Regions from separate parts of the Homo sapiens genome. Here region 1 is linked to region 2. The links are contacts of gene promoters, found by promoter capture Hi-C in human tissues and cell types (Jung and others, 2019). All regions are on one chromosome and are shown on one strand. Each heading gives the region's core, a stretch centred on a gene start or on the middle of the fragment in contact. The rest is flanking DNA. Distances are from core to core; before and after follow the strand shown.

Region 1 (6,889 bases), core at 239-2,738, 35 kb before region 2:
TGTCTCAAAAAAAAAAAAAAAAAGAAAAAAAAAGAAAAAAGAAAAGAAAAGAAAGAATTAAATTCCATGGCCAAATTAAGGGTGAAAAATATTGGAAAAATTTCCTCACTGCAGGACTTCTCAGATCCACAGATGTCTGTATTATGAACCTACAAGACCAAGATATGGTTCATGAATTTATTGGACCACAAAATCCTTTTCATTACAAGGCATACATTAACATTTTGTAGAAGACACGTTTGTGTAACAAATTTGAGACTTATTGATCTAAAATAACCTTCTTATTTTATAGTTAAGAAAAAGGGGTTGAGGGGTGTCAGTGAGTATGAGCAGCTTGCCCAAATAGACTGTGGCAGAACCTGGACTAGAACTCATGATTCACCATCCAATACTTTTATTTGAAGAAAAATAATCAAATATTTACTGTTTATGTATTATACTAGACCCTATGCTAAGTTTCTTGAATATGTGTTCACATGATCTTATTAACAACCTTGTGAGTTAAGTATTAATATTATTCCCGTTTTACAAGTGGGGAAATTATGGCTTAGAGAACAATCCCAGGTCACTTAACAAATGGTAGAGTTGGAATTCAAATGCTAAAGCATTCCCCTATACCACTCATCTTTCCTTGTTGCCCTTGGCTGAAGCAGTTTAAATTACCACTCAAAATATCATTAGGCTTTTCATACCTGTAATGTTGTCATAATTCCGGAAGGTCTTTTCCACATGGTCCCATTCAAGGAAAATGCATTTTCCAGTAAAAGGCTGAGCGATGACTACATACTCATCATTCAAATAAGAAAAAGTGTCTATGGACAATGATTGATAAGGCAGGTCTTGAGACTTTGCAAATTCTGCAAAAATAGGAAATAATAAGTAACTGTGAGCTAATACCTCTTTCCTTGGCTAGATCTTAAATATTCACAAGAAATACATTTATTTCAGAGAATAGTAAAATGGCCATTTTACTTTTAAACACATGAAGCATTGTCAATGGTTCATAATTTTTTTAAAATTAAGTTGCTCAGCTAGTTTTTAAGATATAAAAAATATCAGTTCCTGCACATGAAAAAAAAAGGTAGCCCTTATTTTAATTTTTTGAGGTGGAATGATGATGAGTACATTACCTGTAATGATGCAATCAAAATCCTTCGAGGAGAGACTATTGATTTTGCGCTTCTTGTATTCTGGGGGGCCTTCGCAGTAGATGTCTTCAACAGTTGCATTGGTGTGGCCAAGCCATTCCACTAGCCATTTCAGTTTACAGTCACAATTAAATGAATTACCCCTCAGGTCCCTGAAAGACAAACTTCAGCTGCTTTTGCTGTACAAGGGCCCTACCCACGCAGGAAAGAGTTCTACATCAACAATTAACATGTGCAGAATGACCTTACCCGGCGTTGCATCCTGCCCTATAACCTGCCTGGAACCTGACTGACCACTCATTCACTTTGGGCTCAGAGAGTTAGCACCATGCACACTTGAAGACTACCCAGTCAATGGAACCTCATCACTTACTCCCTCTTGAATTCCAAAGCGGCTTAGTCTAGGGCTGTGCTGTCAATAGAAACAGTATATGAACCGTAATTGTAATTTAAAATTTTCTATAGCCACATTAAAAAAGTAAAAAGAAGCAGGTATAATTCATTTTAATAATATGTTTTATTTAACCCAATACATACAAAAGATTATCATTTTGACACATCATCAATATAAACATTATTGAGATATTTTACATTCCTTTTTTATACTAAGTCTTTGAAGTCCAGTGTGTATTTTATACCTACAATATATCTCAATTCAGATGCTAAATTTTACCAGAAATAGGTGATCTATATTTAGATGTCATAAAATTCATAATTGAAAAAAATAGGTGTATATACCCAAATTATTCCAAGCGTACTTAACATTTTCCAATAATTGAGCTGAGAATCAGCTTTTAAATTTAAATTTAACTGTTAAAAAATTAAGTAAAATTTAAAATTCAGTCTCTCAGTTGTACTAGGAGCACATTTTAGGTGCTCAGTGACCATAAGGTCTGGTGGCTACCCTATTGGACAGCACAGGTCTAAAGGACAGAATGTAGTGATTATTGTAATGTATTTAATCAAGTGAGCTATTTGCTTTTCTTCTTCCTCACAGACATAATTAATCCTGATCCTCTTCCGTGGTCTACAAATTCAGTTTAAATAGGAAATGACTTTGACACAGCAGAGTTAACACAGGCATACAATCGCTCATGCCTGTAATAAGTTATACAGCATAGACCATTTACATATCCACATATGACCCCAACTCACCAAGTTCTCTGTGTATTTGCATTGCTTCTGTTCAGGAATTCCACCTCCTTTCCTGGTCACACAGAATTCTTAAGATAGGTGCTGCCTACTCTTCACACCACACATAAATAATTTTTAAACGCCCAAACATTTAAAAATGTTTTTTAGAGGATACTTTCAAGAAAGCCAAGAAATCCACTAAAAGGCAAGTTGGCATGGATCCTTGTACTTCTAAGATAATTCTTGATTTGGGCATATTAGAGTAGGTCCAAAAGGCTAAACCCATCTTGGGATTCCCATGAGAGACTGAGCCAATTTCAATATTTTTTTGTTTTGTCTTTCACTAGTGTAGGGTATAGACTGACACAAAAATGGGGTAAAGGACCCCCAATGAGCTACATCCCACGTCACCCATGGAGTGTGTTCTAACTTCCAAGACACTCCCAGAACTGACCTAGTCTCCCAAGAGAACTCTGACCCACACTAATGAGTGGCAACCTTTCAGGCTACTGTAAACCAGAGAGGATAACTATGGTCTGTCCAGGACTCTCTTGGAAGAATCCTGATTTGGGCATTCTCCTGGAATTAAACCATATCATTCAGGAATTGAGGTAATAGACATGGAGGAGGGGCTGGGGAAATACTGCAAGGAACAAAGAAAGTTTTTCATTAGGCTACTGATTTGAAGTTAAATACTGGGCTTGGAAGAAAGTACTTGACTCAGATTTTCTTTTTGTTTGTTATTGGAGAAAAGTTGTTTTGAATATATATTCTACAGACAAGTACCTGAATAATTTTTTAAAAAAGCTTTTGTTTTCATATATCCTTTCATTTGTTCCTGTCTTCCACCTTATGACATTTAAATACCTTTCTAATGTTCTGGAAGGCAAATAATGAAGCTGAATTGCTTTTGAGAAGTTTAGGCATATATTACTTGCTTTGCTTACAGCAAAATATACAAATTCCTTGCAAAGATCTTTCACTCGGAGGCTTAAAAGTCAAAGTTTGAAAGCTCTTTTGTTTGAAAAAGGGTCAAAAATAATTAAGTTCATTCCCTTCCTGGGGCTTAAGCCAAATTCCTGGGGATTAAGCTTAGAGTTGTTGTTCAGTCTAATGAGAAAAAAGGCAAACTTTTCTCCCTTCCCCCACTTCCTGTTCCATTTCTCTGTTGATTGACCAACCCAAGGATGTAACCTTTCATCTTTATTCTGTCAGTTTCCCAGACTCCTTTATGTTTTTCCTTTGTAGCCCTATTTCCTGGACCTCATGAGAAAAAAGGGATTTTGAAATTTCTAGCCGGGTCTCTTCCCACCCCGTCAAAGTCCTTTATCATCGCTCCCTGCCGTATTGACACACACTTTGTCAAAGGAATGCCTGGGTGCCATGTATTCAGAATTCCCAATGATAAATACCATAGAAGACTCAAATGTTAGTCCATGTAAATTTAAATTTTTGGCCAGTTAAAATTTAGATTTAAAAATCCTAATTTTAATTTAAAAGCCAATTAAAAATTATAATAATCAATACCAGGCTTCCTTGTTAATGACTGCAAATTAATTAATTGTTCAGTGATTTCTTAGGTCCTCTTACACATTTGTTAAAGAATCCAGGCCTTTGAAAATATCTTTTGGGAGTGTCTGGAGATTGTTGTTTGCAAGGCTCCTGGAAAAAAAAAAAAAAAGGTGATGTAAACTGTAGTGATAAATTAAACAAAGGCATTTAATGATAAAGCTTAGTGATGAGTCTCTTTTGTCATTTCCAGCCTACTAAAAGACTTGTGGTCCTTTTTTTTTCTTCTGAACTACTACTCAGATTCCTGCTATTGTCCTTTCAGTTCCTAACCTGTTCACTTCAACACCCACTCCATATTTATTTACTTTTATTTCTTGAGACAAAAGTCTCGCTCTGTCACCCAGGCTGGAGTGAAGTGGTGTGACCTCAGCTCACTGAAACCTCTGCCTCCCGGGTTCAAGTGATTTTCCTGCCTTAGCCTGCCGTAGCTGGGATTACATGTGCCCGCCACCATACCCGGCTAATTGTTGTATTTTTAGTAGAGACAGGGTTTCACCATGTTGGCCAGGCTGGTCTTGAACTCCTGAGCTTCAGTGATCCACCCGCCTCGGCCTCCCAAAGTGCTGGGATTACAGGTGCACTCAATATTTAAACAACACTTTATGTTGGTTAAAAACAACAATGATTCCTGGGCATTGATCTTTCCATTTAGAACAGAACACGAGAGATTCACACTCTCAGACGCTCAATCTAGGGGATATCTCCCAAATGATGACTAACCAAACTGGTGAGTGTCCATCTCCAAAATGCGCCCCCTCCTCTTGCCTGGGCTGCCCCTTCTGCCTGCTTCCTCCTCGCTTGCTCCGGAGAGCAACCAAACCTCCAACCCACAGTGCCAGTAGCTCTATCTCTTCCCCAGTACATCCTTTCTCCTTTCTAAAGCCCACGCCTCCTTTTCCTTTCTAGCACCATTCATTCCACCTCAGAAAAAAGTTTTCTTATAAAAACCTATCCATCTATTCTCTTTAATCATCCCCCTCTTTCTCCTTCTTCTGGTTCTTTTCCTGTGATCACAGGAATGTTTTTCCCTTTCCCTTTCTATTTGTTCTTCCGTAAATCACTAGAATGATTCTAATAAAGGTTAATGAGTAAAAAATTGTCCTGATAATGTCAAGGAAAGGGAAATGTGTCCCTAGTACACAAATATAGACATAGCACAGTGCTAATGCTGTATGACTGGGGAAGGTCACCAAGTAGTGTAATTTTCTATTTTTAACCAGCACCATATATATACACGTTATAAACTTTTCTTAGAGGTGTTTTTTTTTTCCACAATAAAAATAAAAAACTAAACTAAAACTAAAGAGCCCATACCATTAGCCTCTAAACCCTTGAAAATTCTCTCAACTTCCCTTTAAAACATTCTCAAAAGTCTATGTCTTCTACCTCCACTAATTAAATATAAGGTTTCTCAAGTGCAAACATTCATGAACTTTAGAACTTATTTTTAAGTTAGTTATGTTGTTTTTCTAGGTTTTAGAAATTACTGCTAGTTTGGAAAATGGTTCTCAATGAACCTTGGAATGCAAGAATAGGAACTGAGTCAGAATGTTCCATTGTCAATGACGGTCCAATTGTGACAAAGAGCATGGCTTTTGGAGTGATTCTGAGCTATGTTTGAATCCTGACTCCAGCATTTACTGGCTGTGTGACTTTGGTAATGTATCTTCTTGGAAATTCAGTTGTTTCATTTTTAAGTGAAGATAATAATACCTTATCTCATAAGATTATTGAAAAAAGGAAATGAGATAATCAAGGATGGTGCAGGTGTCTGAACTACTCTCAGTAGAGTGGCTGGTGTCAGAAGAGAACAGCTTCTGTACGTATGTTGTCCAAGAAACAACGTTTAGAAACAGACCACATGAATGAACTGCTATGGCTGTCCACATACAGCAAAATTAATAAAATGCTGCTAAGGAAGACTATTCAAGAGAATGTCTCCATAATTCATCTTACTGACTGGTGTTTGAATGAAGAGATTTTCTGATGTCTTGGACCAGTCCAGAGTCACTCCCATGTTATGTGTCTCAGTTTATTTTCTGGCACAATGTGGCTTAAAGTTATCATACTAACTTCTAAGTGGATGTCCCTTCCTCTGAAGCTGGTAAAAACTGCAACTGGCTGCAGAGCATAAATTTAGAGGAGGCTGAGTCACAGGACAGTGGGCATGCAATGATTAAGCAGTCAAATCCTGAATTACTACTGCCAATAGGGGCTATACAGGAGAAGGCACCATGCTTGTCTTACTGTCCAAGGGGAATTCTTTTTTTTTTTTTTTTTTTGAGACAGGGTCTCACTTTGTTGTCCAGGCTGAAATATAGTGGTGCAATTACAGCTTAATGCAGCCTCAACGTCCCTGGCTCAAGTGATCCTCTGGGCTCAGCCTCTCCAGTAGCTGGGACCACAGGTGTGTCCCACCATGCCCAACTAAGTTTTTTTTATTTGTAGAGACAGGGTCTTGCTATGTTGCTCAGGCTGGTCTTGAACTCTTGGGCTCAAGCTATCCTCATGCCTCTTCCTCCCAATGTGCTGGGATTACAGGTGTGAGCCACTGTACCCTGTGGGATTCTTTTAAATAATGAGTGAATCTGGAAGTTCTACTTCCTGCCCAAAGGAGTAGAGCTTTAGGCCTCACATGATCCACGTGCAAGCTAACCACAGAACAGATGGCAAAACAGAGCTGCAGACTTGGAGCTATGGGGCTTCCAGAATGGAGAGGCAGTATTTTTGCATGACAAGATGGAGGGCTTCTAATTCACCAGAATTGTGAGATGGGGCTGAGAAGGACAGGCTGGCCCGATGGGCTGTGGAATGAGGCATTAAATTTCCTGAGAACCTCTTGTGACAGGCTTTTGCCTTGGGAATCAGAGGGTGGGGGAGGCAGGGGAGCCAGAGGGAGAAATGGTGGGTGGATTCGCTGAACCCAGTGTCAACCCTCTGATGCTCCGCTACCAAAAATTCAATGAAATCCTTGCCCACAATGAACTGCTCTTAGAGGAGAGAGAATGAAGCTTCATGTCTAGGTTTGGTGAGTG
Region 2 (7,213 bases), core at 1,020-3,519:
CATTTGAAGACATCAGCCAGTAGAAGGGCATTAGCCAACATCATTACATAATGTCAAAACAACTGATCAAGTTTGTGAATCCAATGAAACAGTCAAACCAGTTTAGGAATTTCATATACACAAAACAATAGATGAGTGACTTTTAGCTTTTTAGCTTGATATAAAATTTTTAAACCCTACCATTTATAAATGTGTAAGCATTTGGCACACCCTATGCCAAGTGTTTTATCTACTTAAACCTTGGAAGTATGTGTTCTCACTTCCATTTTAAAGATAAGAAGACTGAGGCTTAGTGAGATATACTAATCTGCACAAGACTACATGTTTAGGTTCTATGAGTGGCAGGGTGAGGTTTAAACACTTGTCTCTCCAACGTCCACTCCATGCTGTTTGCCTCTGTGTATGTAACTTCAAACAGCCAAAATGGCCAAGTAAGGCAAGAAAATAAAAAAATAAAAAACAAACAAGTGAAAGGCCTGGGTCCTGAATCATGCAGTTAAGATAGCCAAGACTCAGCTGATCCACAATTGTCTAATTCTGCCCATATCCGTCCAGCTACAAACCAAGTCTGCGACCTGATACCTGAGTCCTGGGAGACCTCTTGACCCCCATGTGATACCGCTGTAAGGACTAGGACTCCAATTGCCAAACATTACACATCAGAACAAATTTTATGTGTTCCATTATGCCTGTGAACAGATCTGATTTCTTAGTCAAATATTATTTTTTTGAATATTTTCAGGCATAGACTGAGTATGTGGTTCCCTTGTGGCCAACTCAAAACATATAGCAGAGAGTAATCCTTTGCACTATCCTATATTAATATTTTCTTTCCCTCCTTGTAATGGAACTAGTTATAAATTAGATGAGATTAAAAAACAGTCTCTTGAGAATTAACATTTTAAGGAATTACCTAGAAAGAGCTGAGGTGTTTTTTTTCCCCACATGGTAAATCATACAGAGTAGCAGCCTGCCCCAGATCCCCGGAGACAACATCTTGAGCGCATATGTTATGCTGGGTTCTGTATTGACTAATTCAAAAACTCCAGGGCAAAAGAACCCAAGTTCCCAAGTTAAAAATGAAAGTAAAATAGTGGAATGGAATTGGGATCATTGTTGCAAGATTCCAACAACTTCATAAATAGCCATTAAAGTAGACAGCATGACAGGTTAACAGATTTACCATTGTAAGAATCAACCTGCACTGTTGGTGTGAAGTCGCAAACAAACCCATCTACCTCTCACTTTACGGATATTCTGTTTTCTCAGAAATAGAATCACATTTGACAAAATTAATATTGAGATCATTTTACTAGAAGGCTTATCCAAATATATGCCATATTAAAAATAGTCATGATATAAATATTTCTCACAAGAGCTGCAGCGATGGCGTGAATAAAAAACTCCCTTCTGAGATTTCAGTAAAACCAGATCTCACAAAGGATCTGAAAGAAAACAAAAAAGAGAAAACAAACAAACAGACACACACAAAGAGACACACACACACAGAACAAACCTTATGTTAATCCGGTTTAGCATAACAGTGACTATTTTGACACTATTTTATGAAGTACGATACTATTCCTTCCCAGATGAAGTAAGAGAAATGAATCGGCTACAGGTTTCTCATGATAATGTTCAGGGCTGGGGGTATCTAAGCATGTTCAGTAGCAGCTAAAAAAATCAAAAATTCTAAATGCAGCAAATGTTAGCACTGTCAAATGGCCAAGCATGCAAGAGGAATCTCTCTCTCCATGCCCTTCTACAAATACATGCAAAGCCCCAAATCCACCGGCTGGAATTTTTAAATCGTAAATTAGATATCAAAATGCTTACGGGCCTTACAATGAGATAACATCAGGAGGAACGGTGCGTGGAATGGATCTGGCATTCTCACATAAAGCATTATCTTTGGTACAAGTACACACGGCAGGGCATTTTGGCTTCGCTGGTTTCTTCCCCTCAGTCAGCAAAAGCGCAGATAAGAGACATAGGAAATAAGCAATTCTTTTCAGGGGAATGCAGGCATTTCCCATCCTTTTGCTTCTTTCTGATTCCATGCAGTCGAGAAAATATCCCCAACCATGAACAGGGCTTCTGGAATTCAGATGGTGATTGTCTTGCTCTAAGAACAGGTCACATAGGAGTCCACCCTTTTCCTCTGCCTCTGTATCTCTGCTTTTTCAAAACAGAGACCTGCAGCTGATTCGTGAGCTTCTCCTCGCTCCAGCAATGCACTGCTCGGGGGAAGAGACCTGTGAGGTACTGTGAGATGGGAGGGATCCAACTGCTGGAGGAGAGAGCCGACTTGCATCACCACGAAAACACTGAGCACAGACCAGCCTTCGAAGGCAAAGTGAAGTGATGTCACAGAAAATAAACAGCTTTCTGCTTTCACCGGGAGGCCCTTTAATTGTTACCAAAAATAGGACGGCATTATGTCTTATTAGTGAGTGGGTGGGCGGGTGGGTGGGAGCAGTCATCTTGCATAGGATGTCGGCAATCTCAGAAACCTCTGGGAGTCTGCTTTTCATGTAGCAAACAACCTAGTAAGAAAAACTAGCTTTGGAGCCAGCCCCGGCTGGAAAAAATGAAGCTAAATGAAACTCTCTCCACAATATTGGGCTAAAACCTTTTGATGTTTCTTGCTGAGCCTACCTGGCTAATGCCATCAGTGAAAGACAAATCAGAACAGATGAAGAATGTGACTTTCAGGGGATGAATGTGAGTACATACTTTTCTGACACTTATTAACTGTCATGAATGATTGATTTTCCTATCCCCCTGGGTCCCCCACGTAATTCATTCTCTCCTTCCATGACAAGGAAGGGAAACAGAAGTGCGGGACCCTCTCTGTGTATAATCCACCTCCCTCTCTTCTCCCACCCTCCCTTCTTTGGCAGTAGCACCAGAAGCCTGGAAGGAACTCCCTGCCAGCAGGAGGCGGCCAGCTCTAGCTTCCTGGGGCTTTGAAAAAGGCCTGGCTCAGCCCCGAGGCTGTGACATGGTGGGGGAAATGCTGGACTGAGAACCAGACACCTGGCTTTGAGAACGCAGGTCTGCTGTGAACTTGCTGAATCTATTCTCCTGTCTGTAAAACGGGGATGATAGTAAAGACATTCTGGAATTAAATGAAAATGATAGGCTATGTTACTCGTGTACTTGATGTGAGCGGATGGGCCCTTGGAAAAGAAAATTCATTTAAAGAAGCAATCAAGAGCCCCTGGCCTTGGGGTGGGATAGTTTAGTCCAAGAGAGTAGGAAGACCCTTGGGATGGAGGAAGATGAGGAAAACAGACCCCCGGTTATCTCACTATGGCGAAGGCGGCCATCCTTCAAGCTGGCACGAACAGCCTGGGATATCAGTCCACGTTCCTTTCTCCTCTAGCTTCTTAGACTGAAAGTATTAAAAGGACTGCTTGAGCAAAGGCGATTTTGACATAACCTCATTCTGCATCAGAGCTGAAAGCATTGCCATTCTACCCTTTCGCTCATGTAGCTGGCCCCATGCTAACTTCAATCCCTTGTTCAGTTCTCTGTAAACTCTTTGCGGGGGACAGTGCCATTCACGTGCATTCTCACATTTGATAACTGTCTGTTTACCCCAGAAGATTGCAAGGTCCACGAGGTTAGAGACCCCGCTAGGGAACCCAGGGCCTGTGTAGCATTGTGCATGTAGTGGGCAACCTGGATGGCTATGCCAGCAACAGCAGAGTGTACAGTCCATTCATGGTCATGCCCAGCCAAATAAACTTACAGTTGCACCTTGCAGTTCTAATAAAGAGATCTAACCTAGTCAAGGAAGTCAGGGGCCAATTCCCTGAAGTAGCAGTGATTGAGCTGAGTTCAGAGGTAAGGAGGAGTTACAGAGAGGGTTCGTGAGAACACTCCAGGTAGAGGGAACGGCATACATAAAGTCTGGCTCATGATCTGCAGAGCAATGGGACACCTCTGTAGAATCAGGCAGGGGAGTGATATTAACTGGTTTGTGTTTCAAAAGGACCAGTAGGTTATTATCACTAAGTCAGTTTTTGTGGGGTTGTAAATACTGTGTGTTGTTTTTTACGGAAGGGAAAAAGAAAAACTCTTCGTTGACAAGAAGTCATGATTTTAAAGTGTATTCTACGAATGCTTCACTGTCAAGGACTCTGTGGAGGAGGGAATGGAGGGCAGTGTTTTTAGAAACTGTGACCTCTGCGCAAGCCTCACTTTAAACAGTAAAAGTGTCACTTAAAAGTTGGCTGCAAGTCGGGTTTTTGTAAATTGAACCCTGCTTCAAGTGCCTAGTGGAAACTTGCTCCGTAAAATAATTATGTGGTAAAAGTTTTATGGAGGATTGTTTTTATTCAAAGTCACCCTCTAAATCAACTGACTTGTAAATGATGTGTTCTGTAACTACAAAATGAAGACATCGAGAAGATTCAGGGACCTCAAAGATCCTGGATTCGATCCCTGCATATTACAGATGGAGAAACCGAGGTACAGAGAGGACACACAGAGACCACCACTCTGCATGGGGTAAGCCCCATGGCAGAAACTTGGTTACAATGACTAATGTAATCCATCAGGCTAAGTCACTCCCTGTGTTTCACTTTCAAATGTTTCAAATCATGAAGATTGCTTGACTAGCTGTTGGCTTTGTGGTATGAAGACACAGCCGAAGAAAGGGTGAGCGGTCTTTTTCTTTTGACTTGGTAAAGCTAGGAAGGCAAATGAATGAGGGGAAGAAATCATATCCATACTATTCACTTTGCAGCTGTATTTATCTGGCAGTTCAGTTTGTCAGTTCAAGGGGGAAAAGGACCATTGGGGAGGGGAGGGGAGGAGAAACTCTAAGGACAAATTACAATGGGCATTCTGAAAAGACAGTAACTTTTTATTTTTCTATGGCATTTAAAACCCAGACTTGAATTCTTTATTCAATTAAAAACACCCACTAAGGTCAGACAAAATTTAACCATGTAATGCAGGATGCTGGCGGCCTTTTTGGGAGGAGAAACCACTTCCTGGCTCCAGAATTGGATCTGAGGAGAGACTCGGGGAGATGAGGGCAGTTCGCTGCATTGAAGTCTTGAGAGGCCTGAAGAGGAGGCCCCATTGCTGATAATGCTTCCCATCTTACTGCTCCAGGAAGCCCCAGGGAGCACAGAGATGATGTAGGAAGCAGGAGGTGGAAGCTTAGGGGTTTCCACCATCTTGGAGGCCTTCAGATAAGGTGTGGCCACCCACTTGTGGATCACAATAGGGACCCTGGGGAGAGGGGCTTGGAAAGGATTAAAGCAGAGTTGGAAGGAGGCCCAGGGAAGCCAGGAGGCCTAGCTGAGGCAGGCTCAATGCCCAGTCTGAGCTGTAGAGGAGTAGCTGAGCTCTGCACTTTGCCAGCCATATGACCATGGGCCGATTTACCCTTCCTAAGTCACAATTTTCTCCTCTGTAAAACGAGGATAATAATAGTATGTATCACATAGAGTTGTTGAGAAAATGAAACATGATAATGTATCTAAAAGTGCTTATTGTGCAGTCTGATACGTGTGAAAGATTTAGTATCATCTTCACCGTCATCACCATCATTCTCATCATGGTTGCAACAGGACTTGAATTCTGAACATGTGACTTCTGGGACCTGGGAAGCAAAGCTCTCAAATAAAAATGAGGTTAGCTGAAGCGTATATTCACTCTGGGAAGCAGGCACTTCTGAGCAGTATGACACACTGTGGCCTTGTCAAGGGTTCCGCCATGAGAAGGAACCAAGCTGCCTCCTGGAAAAAAAAAAAAAATCTCACCAGTTTGGGTGAGAGTAGGAGCACGCATGCTTAGCCCAAGGACAAGGTCTACAGGTGGAGAAGATTAAGGTGGTTGTGAATACAGGATGAAGACTTTTTTCAGCCTACTGCCCTTGAACACGTGTAAGTTAGAAGGGAGTAAGAGGAATCTCTTTTGGGATCCCTGTAAAAAAGTGGGACTTCTCTCTAATGTGGTGGGCACCATTGCATGGCATGCAGGTGCTATAAGGAACTATGCACAGTGGTGACACCAGAGGCTGCTGAAGAGGTGAGACAAACAATGCTCCCATCCAGGCCTGGGAGTCAGACTAAAGTCATGGAATTTTTCACCAGCAGCAGCTCAGCCTTGGTGGCCCAGCAGCAGTGACAGCCCTGCAGACATCAAAGGCACTGGGAAAGGATCCCAGCAGGGAGGCAGAGCAGAAGAGAAGGAAAATGAGGGACAAGGAATGATGTTTGGGAGCACATGTACAGTGTTCCCTGGACATCCTCAGAAAGACCAGAAGGGGGTTCTCGTCTGGGGGCTTCTGGTGGTTCTGGAAGAGCTGTTGAAAGCAGAGTGAGAAAGGAACAGCATGTGCCTGGTTATGATCCCAGTTTTCCCCTCAGGCTGGTGTGGCCTAGGAAACACACATTGTACAAGTAAACAAATCACTATTAGGAGGCTTAGAAGATCAAGCTTGGCCTTGCCTCCTTTTACAAACACTCAGACATGCAAACTGGTGTCATTTTAAGCAGCTTTCTCAACAGAGCAGGGTTTGCAAAGCTGCGTGTCAGATATGATAGTGGATCGGGACATCAATATCAATCTAGTGAGTACAAGTAGAATTTGAAAAATAAATCATTTCAAATACAAAATTGGAGCATATTGCACCAGTAAGGATAACTATTGCCTTGTGAAGCCTTTGTTTCCATTCTTTGTGTGTGTATGAAGGCACAGCTGTGATATAAATCATGCTTCTTTCAGTTTACAACCAAAAAAAAAAAAAGAAGAGAAAAGAAAAAGAAAGGGAAAAAAAAACTGCATGAGAGGATGCTAAAGATCCTTTCCCAACCCAGGAGTCCAAAATGGCAGGGAAGTGATCTTGACTCCAATAAATTTCACTTACTGGTTGAAGTTAGCAATTAGACCTGTCGGAATATTGTTTCTGTTCTTCACTGACTGTGTGAACTTAGGAAAGTTGATTAGCTTCTCTGTGCCTCATTTGCAACAAGGAAGTAAAAATAACAATACTATCTCTGCATTGTTGATATTAGGATTAGTGATGATGTACATGGAAAGAATGTTGCAAAAAAGGCACTGGACTACTGATAGTTCCACTGGAAATAAGTGGGAAGGGGATTGAGGGCCAATCTTTAAGATTATTTGGCAGTAGTGTGTCATTAGGACTCTTTGGTAGCAAGTGACAGACACTGACTCTGCCAACATA

What was found. The method cuts DNA at HindIII sites, captures the fragments that hold promoters and counts their contacts. A contact is called where the count stands out against the background at its distance.
Region 1: a contact is called between a fragment that was not itself captured here and the fragment with the promoter of LGI1 in region 2, in 7 of the 25 tissues and cell types used here (bladder, heart left ventricle, heart right ventricle and 4 more).

What each region holds. Positions count from the first base shown.
Region 1 is chr10:93,787,154-93,794,042 of GRCh38, reverse strand. It overlaps LGI1 (leucine rich glioma inactivated 1), which reads right to left. Exons shown (of 8, transcript NM_005097.4): 5 at 3,873-3,944; 6 at 1,131-1,300; 7 at 693-857. LOC105378437 (a long non-coding RNA gene) reads left to right here and starts at 5,435. Exons shown (of 6, transcript XR_001747552.2): 1 at 5,435-5,511. RefSeq lists an enhancer at 3,160-3,718. The HindIII fragment of the contact is 7,903 bases long and covers 1-5,439 here.
Region 2 is chr10:93,752,992-93,760,204 of GRCh38, reverse strand. It overlaps LGI1 (leucine rich glioma inactivated 1), which reads right to left and starts at 2,269. Exons shown (of 8, transcript NM_005097.4): 1 at 1,846-2,269; 2 at 1,374-1,445. The coding sequence starts at 2,060. LOC101927013 (a long non-coding RNA gene) reads left to right here and starts at 2,488. Exons shown (of 3, transcript XR_246160.5): 1 at 2,488-2,724. The HindIII fragment of the contact is 5,456 bases long and covers 365-5,820 here.